Linked DNA regions of Homo sapiens: region 1 is linked to region 2. The links are contacts of gene promoters, found by promoter capture Hi-C in blood cells and fetal thymus (Javierre and others, 2016). All regions are on one chromosome and are shown on one strand. The core of a region is centred on a gene start or on the middle of the fragment in contact, and the rest is flanking DNA. Distances in the headings are between cores, read along the strand shown. Region 1 overlaps STRBP (spermatid perinuclear RNA binding protein). Region 2 holds the start of CRB2 (crumbs cell polarity complex component 2).

Region 1 (5,834 bases), core at 213-2,712, 210 kb after region 2:
GAAGCTTCTATGAACAATCATATATATATACACGTGTGTATATTTATATATAAAATTTAGGTTTTTGTGGGCAAGTCACAAAAACACAGGTTTTTGTGTGTTAGATTTGTCACCAATTCTCCTGTGTTTCGGCTTCAATGTTATGCTGGCTTCATAAAGTAAGTTAGGACCTATTCCTTCTTTTTCTATTGTTTGGAAAAGTTTGCATAAATTTGATGTTAGTTTTTCTTTAACTGTTGGAAGAATTAATCAGTGAAGCCATTGGTGTGTGTTTTCTTTGTGGAAATGTTTTAAATTACGGATCTGATTCCCTTAATAAGCATAGGACTTCCATCTTCTTAGGACAGTTTTGGTAAGCTATGTTTTTCTAAGAATTTATCCATTTCAACTAAATTTAAAAATATTTTAGAATAAAGTAATTTATAAGATCCTCATTTTATTGTCTGTAGTATTTGTAGTAATGTCCTCTTTTATACATTTTGTACCTTATTTTATTTTGCTAATGACTCTCACCTAGGGGATTATTATTTTTATTAATCTTTATAGGAAAATTAACTTTTGGCTTTATTCATTGTCTTCTGTTGCATGTTTGTATTCTGTTTTATTGGTTTCTGCTCTTTTCTGTAGTTTTCCTTCCTTATGACTTTCTTTGGGTTCAATTTGCTGCTCTTTTTAAACTTTATGAGGTGGATGAATACATCATTGATTTTTCATCCTCTTATTTTATATACTATTAAGATGGTAAATTTCCCTTTAAGCACAGATTTATGTACATCACAGTCTTTGGACATTTGTATGTTTATAATCATTTAGTTAAAGCTATTTTTTACTTTCTTTTATTCCTAATTTTTTGACCCATGGGGTATTTAGATGTCATTGCTTAATTTGCAGACAAATGAAGATTTTGTAGTTAACTCTTTTGTTTTTGAGTTTTTACTTATTCTGCTGTCATCGAAGAACATGTGTTGTATGATTTCTGTCCTTTGATACTTCTTGAGACCTATTTTATGCCCCAGCACATGGTCGTTTTTTGCTCTGAAAATGTATATTCTGCAGTTGAGGGTCATAATATTTTTTTCGTGTTAGGTCATGTCAGGTCACTTGTTCATTGTGCTTTTCAGATGTTGTTTGTTATTAATTGCTGAGAGAGCTCTGACAGTTCCCATCTATTGTGGATTTGTCATTTCCCCTTGCAGGCCTGCCAGGTTTTAGTTTATATTTTTCATTTATAGATTTTTGGCTCTTTTATCGTTTCAGATTTTCTGCCTGAAATTATTTTTAAGAAAGTTTGTTTTTGAAAGGTCCATCATCTGGGTCCATTTTGGGTCTTTTTCTATTGTGTGTGATTTCTCTTGATTTTTGATCATGATATCTTCTCATGTGCCTGGTTATTATGAGTGCTGGATTTTTAAAATAAGAAATTGTAGATAATTTAAAGTGTAGAGTAATGATATCTTCCTCCAGGGAGGATTTATATTTGTTTCTGGGAGGTGACTAATGAAATTGGCAGTCTTAGATCATTTCAGTGTAGTCAGGGATTAAGATAATTTGAAGCTGGGCTTTCATCCTTGTGAGAGCCACAAGGATGAAGAAATATTTCCCGTTCATCTTACTTCTAGTGTATAACATTTCAGAGGCCCAACCCAGTGTGTGGGGGGTTCACCAGCCCTTCTCTGCTTGGACCTTGAACTTAGTTTTGGACTCCTTGAGACCTGGGAGCCTGTTGACATTACTCTCTTCAGTTCTTAGTGACCTCTTCTGGATTAGGAAGATGCCCCTAGGGTTAATGTAACCCCCAATGCAGAGAATTTCTTTCACCTTCCATATCTTTTTTTGTTTATTTTAATTAATTAATTTATTTATTTAAGAAAACACGGCTTGGCTATGTTGCCCAGGCTGGAGTCCAGTGGCTATTTGCAGGTGCAGTCATAGCCCACTTTAACCTCAAACTCCTGGACTCAATGAATCCTCCTGCCTCAGCCTTCTGAGTAGCTGGGACTACAGGCATGTGGCACCGTGCCAGGCTCACCTCCCAGATCTTGATTTTAAAATTCTTCATTGCCCAGGAACAGATACTTATTGTTTGTTTTGCCCAGTTTTTCTAATTGCTCTAGTTGGGAAGCCTTTTTTGACTTATTTACTCTCTCATACTGGAAGTGGGCCCTTGATATTTTGTCAATTAATGGCACCGGGGTTTGAGAACTACTGCCTGGCTCTTCTCACCTACTGCTAGCACCCTCTCCTTGTTTGTTTCACTCCAACCACTCAGGCCTTTGCATCATTTCTTAGCATGTTTCTGCCTTAAGACTTTTGTAGTTGCTGTTTATTTTTCTCTGCCTGGGACTCTTTCTCCAAATGGCTGAATAGTTCACTGTTTTACTTTCTCAGGTCTTCATCAAAAGGTCTCCTCATTAGTGATACCTTTCTGCTGAGCACGACATATAAATTGTCCTTCATTACACTCACTACCCATAGTATATGTTGTAATTAGTTTTGGCCAGTATATGTAAGCTCTTTGAGAAAAGGGAGATTATTTTGTTACTTGCTATGTGTCTAGCGCCTAAAATTGTCTTGCACATAGTAAATGTCAATTAATATTTCTTGTTTATTGTTGAATGAATATATGAATGAATTTATAATGGGGACAGTAAAGGTAATGGCTTCATGAGGGTGCTCATGAGGATTAAATAAGTTAATACCTGTAAGATGTTAACAGTGTCAGGCATATGGTAAATACGAAAATATTATTTTTAAAAATTGTTGCCTCAGAAATGATCACTTCTCATCACTAGATATTGTGAAGGTTGAATACCACCTGCTTTTTGTAAAGCAAGACCCTTTTTCTCCTTAGGTTGCTATTATGATTAGCCCCACATTTTACAGCCCCTTTCCAATGGCTGCTATGATAGAATGAAGCTTAATCCATAGAACTCTATGTAGCTGGAGGATTTAGAGAAGAGATCTCTGCATTTAAGCTAGCTTGTGATTTCCAGGCAATCAAGAAGCTGCTTTTAATGTAACTTAATGAGCAGAAGAGTGATTGAATAGACATAGTTCCTTTTTAACTTTTATCTCTTAAAGACTGCATTCTGGGAGACTGGCATACTCATAGTTGTATGTAATGCAAATGAAATATAATACTCAGCCAACGTTGCCTTCTGTTGAAGAGAACATCAAGATTGATTAACCTGAGTGGTAAATATTGACCCAAGCAAATGCTGAAGTCAGTGTTTACCTCAAGGGACAATAAATCTTGATCAGAAAATACATAGTTAATCTCATTATTATTATAGGCTTTCACTAGAAGAATCTGGAAATCTTGTGGCATGAGTATCTTGAGCATAATTTTCCTTAGGAAAAACAACTAACTTTTAAAGTGAAGACATAAAGAGATGAGATCTTTAAAGTACTTGAATAGGTTGATGAACTTTTCTCTAATAATTTTTAACTTGGACAGCAAAACTGCTGCCTTTTGCTTGACAACATTATAAATTGGTGGCTTCTTTATCCAAGAAACTGATTATTAATCAATTCAGTTAGTTTTTGCTCAGTGCCCATTATGTTGCTTCTAAGTCTTGTGTTAAGGTAGTTTGTAAGATACAAGACAAGGAAAAAATATCTTTGACCTTCAAAGAGCACTGAAGACACACAAGAATATATGAAATAGGCAATGATACAAGACTTTACATTTCTGATATAAAATCTCTGATATGAGAGAACATTTTTATAGAGGAGGTGAACTGTAAATAAAATTTTGAATAGGATTTGAAGAGGCAGAAGAATATTTTATAGTTGGATAATCAGATTTCTAAAAGTATAAGATGTAACGTGGACTTCTAAAGTTTATACAAGTCATAAATGTTAAATTATAGAGATGTTTGAAATGATATTAAGTAAAAATAAATCCTACCAGAGGTAGCTACTTTTTAACATTTTGATATATAGCCTTCTAGACTTTTTCTCTTCATGCATATAACGTGAATATATGCTGTCTGTGCGGCTGCTAAAACAAAATACCTTAGACTGGGTAACTTATAAGCAACAGAAATTTATTGCCCTCAGGGGCTTGAAAGTCCAAAATCAAGGCTTCAGCAGATTTGCTGTCTCGTGAGGGCTCATTGCTCATAGATGGTGCCTGCTATGTATCCCCACATGGCAGAAGGGACAAACAGTCTCTGTCAGGCATCTTTTATAATTGATAAGGGCTCCACCCTCATAACCTAATCACCTTCCAGGTTCCCCACCACCTAATCCCACTGCACTGGGGATTAAGTTTCAACATATGAATTTTGGGGGGACACATTCAGACCATATCATAGACATAGATATTGGTGTGTATATATGAATAAATGGGAAAAAATAAATATAAAAAGTGATAATATTGTTTCAAGATTTGCTGTAAAAAATTTTGCTTTTCTAGATTATAAATAATGGTAATTTAACTGATCAGTGAAAAAGTTGTATGGTCCTTGGTGTGATTCCTAAGATTTTCCTACCTGAACATGTTAGATACATATGGTACGGTAAGGGGATTGTTGTTTTGACTGATAATGAATCCCTCATAATTTTTTTTAGGTGCTGGGTCTTCAGCTCTAAAGAGGCCATTTGAAGATGGATTAGGGGATGATAAAGACCCCAACAAGAAGATGAAACGAAACTTAAGGAAAAGTGTGTAAAACCTTTATTCTTATAGATGCAAACTAGAGAGGACTTGTAGCTTCAGATAGAAAAATTAAAAGTGAAGGGTTTTTTTTTTTTTTTTTTTTTTGAGATCGGTTCTCATTCTGTCACTGAGACTGGAGTGCAGTGGCGCGATCTCGGCTCACTGCAGTCTCCACCTCCTGGGCTCAAGTGATCCTTCAACCTCAGCCTTCTCAAATAGTAGGGATCACAGGTGCGTGCCACCACGCCCTGCTAAGTTTTTGTATTTTTGGTAGAGACAGGATTTTGCCAAGTTGCCCAGGCTAGTCTTGAACTCCTGAGTTCAAGCAATTCACCCCCCTTGGCCTCTCCAAGTGCTGGGATTACAGATATGAGCGACTGTGCCTGGCCAAAAAGTGAAGAATTTGATTGATTTGAATTAGAGTTTTGAGACTAGATCTTAACTGAGCAATTGATAATTGGATAACTTTTTTGTTTCCAAGCTTTTTTGCTTAGGATGCATTTATATTGACAAGCGAAAATTAATGTGTAGTTAAATAATGCATACAATTTTTATAGTGATATTAGCATAATAATTTTAGAATTACTTATGAGGTTAATCTGTGTGTTTTGAAATCCTCATTTAAAAAAATTTTGGTGAATTTACAGTAGTTACTAGGAACCCCAAAAACGCATAAAGCAAAATTACTTTCTAGTTAATTTCTGACCTCATTCCTCTTTCTTTAACAGTTCTGGATAGTAAAGCAATAGACCTTATGAATGCACTAATGAGGCTAAATCAGATCAGGCCTGGGCTTCAGTATAAGCTCCTATCTCAGTCTGGCCCCGTTCATGCCCCAGTCTTCACAATGTCTGTAGATGTGGATGGCACAACATATGAAGCCTCAGGACCATCCAAGAAAACAGCAAAACTTCACGTAGCGGTGAAGGTACAGTATTTGTTTTACTTTGCAATGCTTTCTTATTTTATGTTCCAAATAATATGCTTATTTTCCTATAATAAATTATCATTTTTAAAAACATTTTAATAGCAATAATATTATATATAGACTTTTGTTACTTCTGGATAACAAAGTTGTTTTTGTTGTTGTAAAATAATATGTGGTAGTCTTACAAAATTTGGAAAATACGGAAAGAAGTAAAGAATTAAAATATGTCAATTGAACATTTTT
Region 2 (5,137 bases), core at 111-2,610:
TCTCTGAGCCTTGGTTTCCTTCACTGCAAAATGGGGTCCTCATCCTCCCTAGGGCCCCATAGAGAGGATAGGAAATGAAAGCTTTGTGAGTGCGGGAAACATGAGGGTCCCCAGGTGGGACTGGGAGACACTTGGCCCCCACACCCTACAGCCTGTGGAGCTCTGGGGCAGGGAGGGCTCCCCCAGCCTCAGGAGAGCCCAGGCCCTCCTTGGCTCCCTCCCCAGCCTGTGGTGGTGGGGGCAGGGGACTTCCCAGGCCCGGCCCCTGTAACTATAGTAACTAACACCAAGCGTTCCCTTGGACCCCCCAGGAGGAATTCCAGGCTCCGAGAGCTTGGACAAAAGCAAAAAGGGCTTGGCAAATGTGGTCTGGCTTCAGGGAGCCCTTTCAGATTGGCCTTGGAATGCTGGGGAGGGGGCAGCAGGGGACACACACATGTTCCCAAATCCCCAGCCACCCCACAGGGACCCAGAGCATCCCCAGCAGCCCTCAGCACAGGCAGGGCTACCGCACAAATGGAGGGGTGCGGGCAGGCACCCAGCTCCCTGAGTCTCCCTCACGCTTCTCCACTCAGTCCCGAGTTGGGGTCGGCTGTGCACATCCCACACCCCTCATGTTGAGAGCAAAGACCTAGTTCAACCCTGGACAACCTACACCCCACAGCGTGTGCTAGGACACAGCTCACCACACCCAACTCCTCGGACACAACTCACGGCTCACCCCAGACAGCTCATCCACCTCCCAACTCTAACACACCCACAACCTGTGCCCCACAACCCAGCATGCGACACAGAACAAGCTCTGGGGTGAGGCTTATGCCACCTGCAACTCCCCAAACTCAGCCCCTAGAAACCCAGAAGTCCCCCAGCCCTTTACAGGATGCAACACAGCACCTCCCAAAACACGCACCCCATCCCTCACCCGCATCAGCTCCCCCAAATCATGCCCAGCCCCCGATCCCCCAACCCCGAAACTTACAACCCCCCTCAACATGAAACAGCCCCGAGCCTCAGAACACACTCACCTCCGTGGAGCCCCACAGAGTCTGGGGGCCACAGCCGCGCACTCCTGTGCACCCCACAGCTCAGGCCTGCACCCACGCGGACCAGCCCACCCACCACCCCAGCAGCCAAGGCTTGGGGTATCTGTCTTGGGGGACAGACCCTCTCCCAGGCCCCTCCAGACATGGGCCCCAACTCACCAGCCAGGAGGGAAAGGGCAGGGGCCCAGAGCAGCAGTAGCAGGACAGAGGCCAGGGCCTGGGGGTCCGGGGTCCCAGGCCTGGCCAGCGCCATGGCAGCCCGCTCTGCGCTCTGCTCGGCTGCTGTGAGAACGGGAGGGCGGCCTGGCTGGCTCCGCACCCCCCTCGTCCCTCCAACCAGCACTAATGCTGTGGACAGAGGCCCAGCCCCTCCCTCCCCTCCCCGCCACCGCCTCCTCCTCCCACCCAGGCCTCCTGGGCTGCTCCACCTCGTGGACGTCCCTAGACATCAGCCCCAAGTCCTCAAGCCCCCTAGCCTGTGGGGCTGACCTGGTCTTGGCACCCACTGGTTTCTCCCTCCTGACCCTCTGCCCCACTCTCCTCCCACCTCTCAGGTCAGCCTCCTTGGAGAAATTTCTGTCCTTGGAGAGGGGGCTGTTCAGGACTCTCGTCTCACCAGGTGATGCCAGCTACTCCCAAGTCCTTAGTTATCCCCTCTCCTGGATCCCCCTCCCCACCTCTCCAGCCCGGGCCTCTCTCCCAAGCCCAGGCCTTCGAGTCCAGTCGCCTCCCAGACCCTGTCTCTGCTGGGAAGCTGCAGCCCCTCCCACCCAGCTCGTCCCCCCACCTGCTGCTCCCCAGTGCTCCCATCGGAGCCAAGGCACCTCCCATCGGGCAGCCCAACGCCCCCTCCCCACTCCCCCCTCCCCACACTCGGTCAGCCCCTAGCTCCTGGCCATGCCACCTTCTCAGTGTCTCCTGCTGTCCCCACCCCGTCCCACCCGACCACACACAGCTCCTCCCACCATCGGCCTCAGGATCAGCTCCCTGCAGGGCACCTCACCCCTGCACCACGGTGGTCCCTGCCTCCCTTTACCCTCTCCACCCTTCACCAGCCAAACTGAACCTTTCCCAGCTTTCTTCCACTTGACCTTGATCTCTGGCTCTGCTGTTTGCAACTCCAGCGACCTCACTGCAATCCAAAGCAGCCCATTCTACTGAAAGGCAGCTCTAACCAAGCAAGCATTGCTCTCCCCTGCCAGGAAGTCCTTCTTGTTGTCTAACCTTATAGTCTCCTGCTGCACTCGATGTTTGCTTGCTCTCCAGCTGGCCTCTTGTTGGGGTGGACAGGAGGAGCTCTTCAGGGGGACCTGGTTCAGGAAGCCAGGTCATCTCAGAGACACTACAACATAGAACAACATTCCTTTCTTCTACCACCCTCAGCCCCAGTGGGGAGAGAATCCTCTTGCTGAAGGGACTTTCCTGAAATGAGCCACCGGCCCCTGCCAATACATGCCTGTTTGTCCCTATTCAGTAACCGTGGATACAGCCCACGCAGGCCCTGGGCTCTGGGATGTGTCCCTGACACGGGAGGACACAGCCTGGAAAGACAGCAGGAGCCATTGAGGGAGGTCCAGATGAGCTAGAGGGATGGGCAAGGGTCCCCTGCAGTGCAGGGGAGGGAGCAGTGGGCACCACACAGGCCCTGGCCGACCCTCTAGCCCGGGGCAAGTGCCACAGCCCTGGGTCCCCAGGGACCAAAGGAGGGAACCCAAAAAGGCCTGGGTAGACTCCTTATCCACTGCCCCTGCCCCATCCCTGCCCTTGAGGCCTGTTCTCTCCAGGGCAGGGATTGCCCCTTGGTTTCTGGGACACTAACCTCTCTCAGTCCATCTTTAATCCCCTGCCTCTCCAATACAACAGGATCCCTCTCCCCAGGTGGGAGAAGCCCCTCTCCATGCCACAGGAAAAGCAGAGGCCTCACAGCGTAAGAGATCTGGGTTCGAGCCCAGCTCAGCCACTGATTAGCCGGTGACCTCAGCACGTGACTTCCTTCTCTGGGCCTCAGTCTCCTCACCTGTAAAATGGTGGCGTTAGTGAGCCAAGGCGACAGTGCCAGCTCTCTTTATCCAGCTTCTCAGTGATCCCCCAGAGACCCAGGCAATCCCAATGGGGGGCTGGGGGGAGCACGGCAAGTCAACCACCACCCTCTGGTTCTCTGGATGCACAGACACAAACTCCCACACTTTCACAGAGCGGGGAGGTCACCCGGCGCAGGTCCAGTCTCCTCTGCAGCCCGGCCCCCAGCACTGTCCTGCAGCCGCCACACTCCACCTTGTGGCCAGACCTGGAAGTGTCTTGTGAGGTCTGGAGGGTATGGAGGGGGGCTCCCCCGACAGCACCGGGTACAGGAGTCCCACGTGACGGGGAGGAAGCCAGGGAGTCGCTGGACAGCAGGCAGGACGGAGGTCAGACAAGGGCACACCATCTTGACCGCTCCCTGGTCCGGATCTGGAGAAGGCAGTAAGAGTGGGCCAGCTCCTCTGAGATGGTCCCCCAGGTGCATCCACTTCCCCTGTCCTCCCCACCTGGGAAGGGAATCGACATAACCTCAGTTTACCCCCCCCCCACCCACCAGCAGCACTGCAAAGTCAGCATTGGCCCCATTCTATGGATGAGGAAACCGAGGCACAGAGAGGTGAGCAGCCCAGCACCAGTGCCTGGCAGGATTCGAGTTGGGTCTGCCCGACTCCAGCCTTTCCACTGGTGAACCTCCGACTGCAGGTTACTAACTGCCCCTCCACTAGCCTGAGCATGACTTGCTGCCACCTCCCTGGCTGAGGGGACGCTGTCCTGGGCCGGGATTCCCACCAACTCTCAAGCTGATGGGCACATGCGACAGCAAGGTTCAGTGGTTGGGAGTCCCAGCTTTGGCATCAGGCAGACCTGGGTTTGAATCCGGTTCCTGCTCTCTGCCCTTAGGTGAGCTTTTGTTGGTCTGTTCCTTTTCTGCGTCTTAGTTCTCCCATCTGTAAATGGGATCATCACAGCATCTGCCTGAGAACATTGCAAGGACTGGGCGGCTGCTGTCAGAGCCTCGTCGTGGGAGGATAGTGACCCTCCCCACTGAGGAGCCCACCAGAAGGAACCCCTTCAGACCCTTCCAGGTGACTCCTGCTCTGGATCATTCCCCAGGGTCTCACATCTCCCTTCTCAGGGTCTCACTGGTTGTTCTGTTTGTCCCTACTCCCCACCCAGAGCCGCCCTTGCCCTGCTGGCACCTGTGGGCTGTGTCATGCTGGCTTCCTTCCATCTGCTTCCTGGAAAGGTGAGCCAGTGGGAGGCACAGGCCGGAGATGCCAGGGAGAGAGGAGATGGAGGTTGGGGTGTTTCTTCCCCTCCTTCTCCCTACATTGGGTATTGGGGTGAGAGTGACTGCAGCTCCAGCTGAGGCCCCTTCGGCTCTCACGGCCCAGGTCCCCCTGCTCCCTCTGTGTCTGAGTCTGGGGCCACCATCAGCCCTGACCTCACTGGGTTTCTCTAAGGCCTTCTCCATTGTCACCCATGCCCTCCTTCTTGGAACTCTGTCCCTGTGGGCTCCCCAACCCCTGCTACCCTGGTCTCTCTACCTTGTTAACCGTTCCTCACTCCTCCTCCCAGAATGTTGTGACCTGTCCGGGTCTGTCTCCAGCCCCCTGCCCTCCTCACTCCACATTCCTCCCTGGACAAGCGTGTCCATGCCCCAGCTTCAGTGACCAGACCTCCACTCCCTCCCAGCCCAGCTCTCACAGGCTCTCCACCAGTGGCACTTAACCTTGTCTCAACATATGTATGCTTGTAACTTCCAAAAGAAAACCAACCCAATGCCCTAACTGAAACATCAGAGGCAGACACTATAGGCCAGTGGTGAGGTGCACAGATGCTGATTCAAATCCCGGCTTCTCCACTTCCCAGCAGCACTGCAAGGTCAGCACTGGCCCCATTCTATGGATGAGGAAACCAAGGCACAGAGAAGTGAGGTTGGCCCAGCACCAGTGCCTGGCAGGATTCGAGTTGGGTCTGCCCGACTCCAGCCTTGGGTAAGTCACCTCTCTGTGCCTCAGTTAGCTCCCTGGTAAAAAAAAGAGACAGCAACTGCACCTTACTGCATAGAC

What was found. Contacts are between HindIII fragments. The CHiCAGO score rates a contact against its expected background, and 5 or more counts as called.
Region 1: a contact is called between a fragment that was not itself captured here and the fragment with the promoter of CRB2 in region 2, in 3 of 17 cell types (naive B cells, total B cells and naive CD4 T cells). The highest score is 7.5, in naive B cells.

Annotation. Positions count from the first base shown.
Region 1 is chr9:123,146,612-123,152,445 of GRCh38, reverse strand. STRBP (spermatid perinuclear RNA binding protein) reads left to right here. Exons shown (of 19, transcript NM_018387.5): 12 at 4,576-4,668; 13 at 5,392-5,591. Among named protein-coding and RNA genes, the nearest start is that of MIR600HG, 34 kb to the right of the region's middle. The HindIII fragment of the contact is 2,912 bases long and covers 7-2,918 here.
Region 2 is chr9:123,352,420-123,357,556 of GRCh38, reverse strand. CRB2 (crumbs cell polarity complex component 2) reads right to left here and starts at 1,360. Exons shown (of 13, transcript NM_173689.7): 1 at 1,203-1,360. The coding sequence starts at 1,296. RefSeq lists enhancers at 3,060-3,229, 2,898-3,397 and silencers at 3,360-3,409, 3,430-3,539. The HindIII fragment of the contact is 7,167 bases long and covers 84-5,137 here.